2 separate regions of the Homo sapiens genome follow, and region 1 is linked to region 2. Evidence: promoter capture Hi-C in 16 types of primary human blood cells and fetal thymus (Javierre and others, 2016). All regions are on one chromosome and are shown on one strand. The core of a region is centred on a gene start or on the middle of the fragment in contact, and the rest is flanking DNA. Distances in the headings are between cores, read along the strand shown.

Region 1 (3,854 bases), core at 453-2,952, 310 kb before region 2:
GAGCCCAAGCACACCTCCCTCCTGTCCTTCCCTCGGGCCCGCCGCGTATGCACAGGCGTTCCCAAACACCGGCTTCTTCCCGTCTTTCCTCAGGATCACCTCCTGGGACTGGCACCCCTTCAACCTGGGGCCAAGGCGGGGGCTCAGGCTGCAGACCAGGGAACCCCTCCTCCCGCCTGCCAGCCACCGAGCCCCACCCACACGTCTCGGTCCCGCCCCTGCTCCCGTGGGACCCGGGAAGGTTGGGGCCCCAGGTCCCCAGTTTTTTGCTTCACTATCCAACTCGTGTCAATCTGAGGCTCTGTGGTTTGAGGATTTTCCAATTCGGACTGGGGCCTGTCCCACGGCACGAGAGAAACTCCCAACACCCACCCGTGTGGGGCCCAGGAGCTGCAAGCGGCTTCCTCCCAACACCTACCCATGTGGGGTCCCAAGGTCTGCAGGCAGCTTCCTCCCAACACCCACCCATGTGGGGTCCCAGGGGCTGCAGGTGGCTTCCTCTGAGTTTAGGGGGAGGAAGTGGGGGGACGGTTCTTGTGGAACTTCCAGACAGACAGGCTCCTCCCAGACTCCTTTCCAGCCCCGAGGCAGCTCCCTCCTCCTGGAAGGGGAGACCCTTGCCTGGGGGGCGCTGCCCACTCACCGTCTGAAGGCGAGGAGCACGCGGAGCTGGCCCACTTTGTTCACCTTTACCACGGACGCCCCCAGCTTCCTCTTGTCCCTGGCCGGCAAGAATCCCTGGGCATCAGTGGCAGTGGCCAGAATGTACCAGAACCCTGAAAACTGCGCAGCGGATGTGTGGGCGGGGACAGGAGCTGCCACCGGGGGCTGTCCCCACCCCCGAGGTTCCCAGCTAGAGAACCCAGGAGACAAATGACCCTTCTGTGAGCCGGAGTCCCAGCTCCGCCCAGGTGCCGCCTCGGTCCCGGCCACTCAAGCCCTGGCCACTGGAGCAGGGCTGCAGAGAAGCAGGTGCCCGGCTGGTCAGGGACCCCAGGCAGCAAAGGGCTGGGCTGTGGGCGCCAGCAGGTGGGAGGCCCCCTACCTCAGAGGCCCCGGCTCCTTCCCACATGGCCTCCTGGGGGCTGGGTACTGCTCGGCCACTTCCCTTCCTGCCGGCCCCCGGCCCCCAACTCTGCCTGCTGCCAACCCTAGCGCCCTGGGCACCGCCGTGCCAATGAGTGCTGCTCCCACGGCTCACTCAGCAGGTGCCCGGGCCCTCCCGCTACAGAATATGCCCCGCTTGCTCCACACCCACTCTGCACTCTGGGCGTCTCCCGACCTCCTCGGCCACAGCTCTCTGGGCCCCTCCACCCTGGCCCTCCCTGACCCCCCTGGGCCCCCGAACCCCCTCGAGGCTCCCTGCCTTTGCCCTGCAACTTGCGGGGCCCCTGTGCTGGAGGCTGCAGTGGGAGAGGCCAGGTGGGCAGCGCCCGTGCCTGGAACTGCTGGTAGCCCTGCTCCTGGGCGGCTGCCGGGAGACTGTGCAGGAGCCTGCTCCAGCTCCAGAGCCGGCGCCCGGCTCAGGGACCAGTGGCACATGGCTCACCTTGTTCCAGTTGAGGGCGTGGGACTCCCTGGGGTACCACTCCTGCACCTGGGACCCTGCAGCCAGCACTAGCACCAGCACCAGCACCAGCGCCAGCACCAGCAGCCCCTGCCTCATCTTCACCCTCCTCCCTCAGCCGCCAAGGCCAGTGTTTAAACCTCTCTGGAGCCGCCAGCCTGTGTCGGGAGAGGAGGGAGGGGAGGGAGCGGAGGGAGGCAACAGGTGTGGCCTTGGGCTCTGCTACCCTCTCCCCGCCCAGGGACCACCCCCAGACACTCCAGGGAAGCCGGCACTGCCCCACCTGGTGGTCACTGCTGGCCTGGGCTGCCCTGGCAGACAGAGGCCCCTCTGAGGCCCCAGGACCCTCCTGCCCTCAGTGCCCGGCCTGGGGTCACTGTGTGTGCCCCTGAGACTCATTAAGCCCTGGCCCTCATCCTAGACCTCCCAGGTGACAGGCAAAGGGCTGGTCGTGGCCCTTCTGGGGCAGATGTGGACATGGTGAGCTCTGCGCGGCAGCCACACACACAGCCCCCACCACCTTCTTGAGGGCCTGGCACCAAGCACCTGAGCAGGTGCCGAAGGGCGGGCCGGGGCTGTGTGCCCGTGCCCATGAATGTGTGTGTGTGCATGTGTGGGTGTGTGCTCACATGTGCATGCGTGTGCATGCCCAGCCTTGCAGGTCAAGGCATCTGTGTGCACCTCGCCTCACTCCAGCATGAGCCTCACACAGTCCCCAGCCCCCCATCCAGCCCCGAGACCCCCATGGCCTGTGCTTCTCCCAGGACGGCAGGCAGCGCAGCCCCCCACACCCATCAGAACACAGGAGGACCTGCAGGCTCAGGTGTCTGGGGTCCCTGCCCCTGCCCAGGCAAGAGACACAACCCCAGCCCAGAGAAGCCTGAGCCTGGGGAGTCAGGGGCTGCTCTGAGCCCCACCAGCCACCTCTCTCTTGTCCTGGGCAGTCCTTGGAGCCTCTGGCACCCCAGCTGCGGTCCTGGTGGAGCTCACTGCTGGCTTCCTCCCAGGCTGTGTCCTCTGACCAGCCCCCGCCTCTGAGCCCGGGCCTGAGTTTGGGTGTCTGAAGACCCAGAGGGGCTCTGGCAAGGGACTGGGTTGGGCACGCGTCTTCTTTGCAGCTGGCTCTATGGTTCTGTGGCTTGGCCCTTGGTGACGACCCCCGCCATCCTCCCCGCAATTCCCCGGCTGGCCCCCAGTCAAAAGCATCCTTGGTTTGCTGTGGAATCGCTTTATTCTGAGCTGGTGCTGGGCCCCGGGAGCCGCTGAGCGAGGTGGGTGGACACTGGCCGAGGTCACAGGACCCTGTGGGCGCCATCCCTACTGGGGACGCAGCACTCACTGAAAACCAAGAGGAGTGTGAGGGGGCCCAGCCCACCATGGAGGCTCCTCCACACCCTCAGCTGCCTTAGAGACAGTGGAGCCATGAACCCCGTGGGCTTGGGCAGAGGGTCCTCCCACCCACTGTGCGTAGGGTGGCCTCCCCCACCCCCTTCCCCCAAGAGAGCCCAGGGTGAGGCTCAGGATGGCGGCTTACCAGAAGGATCTTGTGAGCACAGGTGACTAGAAGGGGAGGCAAGACTGGCTGTGAAAAAGGACTGAGCCCCCCAGCACCCCAGGGCCCCACCCACAAGACTCGCCTGCCGTGGGGACAAGACCCCCAGGCCTGACTTTGGGCAGGGGCAGGTGAAGACCCCCTCAGCCTGCCTGACTCCTTCAGGGCGACTGAGTCAGGCAGAAGCCAGAATCAACCCCAGGGTCTCTGTCACCCCATCACGCCCTGTGGGCTCCAGAACTTGCCCCAAGCCTCCCCCGAGGCTGCTCCGGTGGACACTCACGGTCCTTCTGCAGCTGGGCCTGCTACTGTGACAGGAAGCCCAGGCTCCTGCTCCACTTGGTGAAGAGCCCCATGGCCTCCTGGCTGGCTGTCTCCGTCAGACCTGGGGGCACCAGGGCAGTGCAGGGGGAAGCAACCTCTGAGAGCTGGGGAGGGGCCGGGGAGGGGCTGGGAAGGGTCAGGAAGGAGGCCACCTGCCCTGGGATGCTGGCCCCGGTCCTTCCAAAGCCACCTCCAGTGCAGCGAGCCTCAAGGTGGGGGAACTTGGCCTGCATGTGGTCCTGTGCGGCCCACCCACCACACAGCTCCCCACATGGCCCCCGAGCGGCCCACTCACCACACAGCTCCCCATGTGGCCCCAAGCGGCCCACTCACCACACAGCTCCCCACATGGCCCCCGAGCGGCCCACTCACCACACAGCTCCCCACGCGGCCCCCAAGCGGCCCACGCAC
Region 2 (4,835 bases), core at 1-2,500:
GATGCAGGAGGCAGGGCCCCAGGTGAAGAAGGTCCACCGAGGCTGGCCGTGGGCCTCAGAGCCAGGTCAGCTCTAAAGACACTCTCCCTAGGCCTCCAAGCCAGGGCCAGAGAGAGAGGCTGGCCCTGCCTTGTTGGGGGTGCTGGGTGGGCCTTCCTGCAGACCTGAGTGGCACGAGCTTGTAAATGCCCTTTTCCAGCTCCTGCCCCAGCATCCTGGATCCACCTGGAAAGCTGGGGACCAGCCTCCCAGGCCCGGGCGCCAATTCCAGCCTCCGAGAGGGCCGCACCAGTCCATCCCGACCAAGGCTTCCCCAGAGCCCAGAGCATCAACAGGTCAGCGCGTGCACCGCCACATGGCCGTCCTGCAGGGCCGCAGAGCTCCCTGCTTCTGACTCCCCATCAGGCTGGGGGACTTGGCTCTCCACCCCACCCCCCTACAAGCCCAATAAAGGGTTAAAGGGGCCGACCAGGAGGTCCCTGGGCCTGCTGGAGTGGAGATCCAGGCTAGCCTGCTCCAACCTTTTGAGGACCGGCCAGGGCTGCTCCGGTCAAGCCCTCCTGTCTTTCTGGGCCACTCTCGTGTCCTGGCGGGGGCCCTGGGTCCTGGGGCTTGTGGATCCCCATCTGGGCTGAATACCCAGTCGATGTGGCTCTAACCGCACCCTCCGGGGCGGCGGCACAGGGCAGAAGTGGCCCGGAGTGCCCCTGGGGGCCCGCACAGGCCTGGGGGCGGGCGTCCGGCAGCACCCAGGGGGCATCGCTGGGCTATCCCGGGAGCGGGGACACAGCCCCTGGGCTGCGTTGACGGACTCGGCGGCGGGCGCGGAACTCCCGGGACTTGTTCCTTCAGCACCGCGTCGCCCTGGAAGCGCCACCGCCCCCCGCCCCCTCCGCGTACCCGGTCGGGGAGCGCAGAGCGCGGAACCCGGGACCCCACCCAGCCCGCCAGGAGCAGAGCACGGTGGGGGTCCCGGGCTGATCCTGCTCAGGTTCCCAGCCGCACCCCCTCCCCGGCTCCAAGCCCGGCCCGCTGCTCCCCAGACGTGCGCTGGGTGCCCGGGCGCGCACCTTGAGGGCGGGCGGCTCCCGGACGTCGCGGGTGGGGACGCACAGCAGTAGGAGGCCGGCGAGGCCCGCGGCGGCCAGCAGCAGCGGCGGCAGCAGTGACCGCACCTTCCCGGCCATGGGCGGGCGGGCGCGCGGGAGGACGATGCGTGGACCCGGAGAGTGCGGGGAGCCGGAGGCGGAGGCGGGCGGGGCCGCGGGACCGCGGGGTAGGGGCCCCGGGGCGGGACGAGGGGCGGGAGGCCGGGCGGGCCCGCCCATCACCGGCCACGCCCACGGGCGGACAGGTTTCGCCTCCGCTCCCAAGCTTCCGCCGTCCGGCCCGCGCAGGTGAGAGACGCGGGCGCGGCTGAGTCACCAGCACCGCCCCCCGGCTCCCGGGTCTGAGCCCGGGCGCCCCGCGGCTATGGCCCACCTTCCCCTTCCCGCCCACTCAGCAAGGGGATCCCCCGGCCGTGGAGGCAGGAGACCTGGCGTGGGGGTGGGCGGGCGAGGCTGGCTCGGAGGGTCCTGTGCTGGAGAGCCGCGCTTTTCCCGGGCCCGGGAAAGGAGGCCAGACTCGCTTGCAGGAATGAGGCACTGTCGGCTGCGGAGCCACGCGGGGCCCGGGCTGGGGACTCAGGAGGAAGCCGAGGGTCAGCACCTGTTTGTGGAGCAGGGCCCTGAGCGCCAACTCCCAGGGCTGGTGAGGACCAGGCTGGCCTGCGGGATGCCCTCCCGGCCAGCAAGGATCCGCCAGCCTGCGGCGCTGAGCCAGCGCAGGTCAGCTCCAGAGACACGCAGCTGACCCAGGCCAGAACTACCCTTGAGGCCCAGTCAGATCCACCTCACCTGGGCCCTGTACTGAGGTGAAGGTGAGGACGCAGGAACGGGGAAGGGGAGGGACGGCCCAGGTCACACCGAGCCGAGAAACAGGAGAAGCAGCACAGACCGGGCCAAAGGTCCATACCTCCCAGCCCAGGGCCTCAGCCGCGCCTGCTGCCCCCTCGGCCTGAGGGGAACAGAGGCTTGGGCTGCGGAGGCCAGAGGAGGCTTCCCCAGGACGGAAACAGGTGGGGCCTCTACGTGGCCTGAAAGGCAAGGAAGAGGGTCCCCAGGCCAAGCTTGGGGTGCGGGTCAGCAACAGGCTTCTGGGGACGGCTGGGGCAGGCGAAGCGCAGCTGGCCCCAGACGCAAGCCCTGCTCCTCCGTCCCACGACATGGCTGGCCTTTCGGCTCTGCAGCCTCACAGGCCCCGCATCCCAGCCCGGCCAGGGGCCACCCCCTTTGCGCCTGCTGCAAAGTGGGAATTCTTGTCCCAATAATTCCAGCCACACAGCGTCAGGGAGCCACGAGGCAAGGCCACCAGGGAGTGCAGGCTGCTGGGGCCCAAAGGGCAGCCCCATGGGGCAGGGTCCAGACCATGCCCGGCCTTCTGGAACGGGCAGTGACAATTGTGCTGGGATTGCTGCCTGGGCTGAGGGTCTGGCGCCACAGGCCCAGTAAAGGCATCTTTCTTCCAGCTCAGGACCCCAAAGGGAGGGGTGGGAACCCTGGGAAGCCTCTCTGCTGCCTCAGCCTCACAGCCCAGCCTGGCGGGGCTCCAGCAGGCAATCTCTGGGTGTTGCCGGTGCTAAGCTCCAGGCCCCAGGCCCCAGTTTCCCCCCACACACCCCAGGCCTTTCTTCCACCCCTGACCGCCCAGAGGAGGGAGAGGCACGCACAGTGCACATCATGCCTGAAAAGGAAGGAACAAAGGCCGCCCAGAGGCAGGGTGCTGCGACCCCCACTGGCCTGCGGTACCCCGCTTCCCTCCAGGCCCAGCGGGGCTTCCTGGTGTTCTGGACTCTTTTCATGGACAAAAAGCTCAAGCCAGGGAGTGGGAGGTCTGCCAGGCCTGAGAGGATGGGGAGGGAGAGGGGAGCTGGACTCTGCCCCGGGGAGACAGGCTCATGGCCGAGTGCCCAGCTTCGCCTGCGGAGGGAGAGGCAGGGAGCCCAGAGCGGCCAGGACAAAGGCTGAGGCTGAGCTCTCTTTGAGACGGAGTGAGGGCGGGGGAACGCCCCTTCCTGGCATGGACTCAGGGACCCTGGAAGGCAGACTTGGGAGAGCGTCAGAGGGAAGCTGGCAGGAGCTGAAGGGGTGGAGGGGCCTCTGGGTGGGGCAGCTCTCGGCTTCCAGGACCCTCTCGGGGATGGGGCCTCCAGATGTGCTGCACATGACCCCGGCTGAGCTGGGAACATGCGGATGCAGAGAGGTTAGGGGAGAACCCCTGGGGGAGGGAACTCGGAGCCTCCCGCCCACGCAGGGCTCAGACCTCCCAGGGAGGGGGGCTTTCCTGAGGCCTGCTGACATCTTGGCTGCCCTGCCTCAGTCTCCACATCAGAAGCTTGTGCTGTGTGGCTCACGTCTGTAATTCCAGCACTTTGGGAAGCTGAGGCAGGTGGATCACTTAAGGTCAGGAGTTCAAGACCAGCCTGGCCAACATGGTGAAACGCCGTCTCTAATAGAAATACAAAAATTAGCCGGTTGTGGGCCGGGCGCGGTGGCTCACTCCTGTAATCCCAGCACTTTGGAAGGCTGAGGCGGGCGGATCATCAGGTCAGGAGATCAAGACCATCCTGGCTAACGCAGTGAAATGCCATCTCTACTAAAAATACAAAAAATTAGCCGGGCGTGGTGGCGGGCACCTGTAGTCCCAGCTACTCGGGAAGCTGAAGCAGGAGAATGGTGTGAACCCGGGAGGCGGAGCTTGCAGTGAGCCAAGATCGCGCCACTGCACTCCAGCCTGGGTGACAGAGCGAGTCAAAAAAAAAAAAAAAATTAGTCGGCTGTAGTGGCAGACACCTGTAATTCCAGCTATTTGGGAGGCTGAGGCAAGAGAATCGCTTGAACCTGGGAGGCAGAGGTTGCAGTGAGCTGAGACTGCACCACTGCACTCCAGCCTGGACGACAGAGCGAGATTCCATCTCAAAAGAAAAAAAAAAAAGAAACTTGTGCTGTGGCCGAAACACCTTGATGGTTTAATTGTGAAAGGCCTTTCACTCACTGCTCCCTTTCTGCAGGTGCTCATTAAGTCATTCAACAAACGCTTGCTGAGTAGTACTCCTGGGTGCCCAAAGCACGCCAGGCTCCATGCATGCACAGGGAGCCCTGTGGGGAGGGCACCCACTGGCCTGGGGAGAGCAGACTTTGCAAAGGCCCACGGGAGGCGGGGAAGCCTGTGCTGTCCTGTTCGAGGTCGGAGACACAACAGAATGGGAGGTGCACATATGCACAGTTGGTAAGAGCAATGCCAGGGTGGCAGCAGGACCCCATTGGTGGTCTCTGATGTGCTGGACGTGCTGTTCTGGGACTTGCTTCTTTCACTCACGTTACGCGTTTGGGATTCACCCTGTTGACACTGAGAGGTGTGGCTTGTTTGTTCCTTGCTGTATTCCATCCTGTGAGTGAGAACATGCAGACGGCGTGTCGCTGCAGCTGGTGAACACACAGTGTCTGGCTTTAGGCTTTGCTGAGATTGCTGCTCTGCACATATACACTCTTTTTTTTAATTTTATTTTTTATCTGAGGTGGAGTCTGGCCCTATCGCTCAGGCTGGAGTGCAGTGGCGCGATCTCAGCTCACTGCAACCTCCACCTCCTGGGTTCAAGCGATTTCCCGCCTCAGCCTCCTGAGCAACTCGGATTACAGGCGCCTATAACCATTCCCCACTAATTTTGTATTTTTAGTAGAGACAGGGTTTCACCATATTGGCCAGGCTGGTCTCAAACTCCTGACCTCAGGCGA

The links. The method cuts DNA at HindIII sites, captures the fragments that hold promoters and counts their contacts. A CHiCAGO score of 5 or more calls a contact.
Region 1: the fragment with the promoter of LCN10 here is called in contact with the fragment with the promoter of ENTPD2 in region 2 in 6 of 17 cell types (erythroblasts, fetal thymus, M0 macrophages and 3 more); the score reaches 6.2 in erythroblasts.

Annotation. Positions count from the first base shown.
Region 1 is chr9:136,741,238-136,745,091 of GRCh38, forward strand. LCN10 (lipocalin 10) reads right to left here and starts at 1,703. Exons shown (of 6, transcript NM_001001712.3): 1 at 1,550-1,703; 2 at 644-783; 3 at 15-124. The coding sequence starts at 1,666. It overlaps LCN6 (lipocalin 6), which reads right to left. Exons shown (of 7, transcript NM_198946.3): 5 at 3,403-3,504; 6 at 3,102-3,127; 7 at 2,780-2,905. The coding sequence ends at 3,425. RefSeq lists a silencer at 1,108-1,207. The HindIII fragment of the contact is 7,084 bases long and covers 1-3,854 here.
Region 2 is chr9:137,052,811-137,057,645 of GRCh38, forward strand. ENTPD2 (ectonucleoside triphosphate diphosphohydrolase 2) reads right to left here and starts at 1,251. Exons shown (of 9, transcript NM_203468.3): 1 at 1,071-1,251. The coding sequence starts at 1,187. LOC105376327 (a long non-coding RNA gene) reads left to right here. Exons shown (of 2, transcript XR_930455.2): 1 at 1-65; 2 at 200-565. RefSeq lists silencers at 1,237-1,306, 1,407-1,486. The HindIII fragment of the contact is 4,509 bases long and covers 1-1,372 here.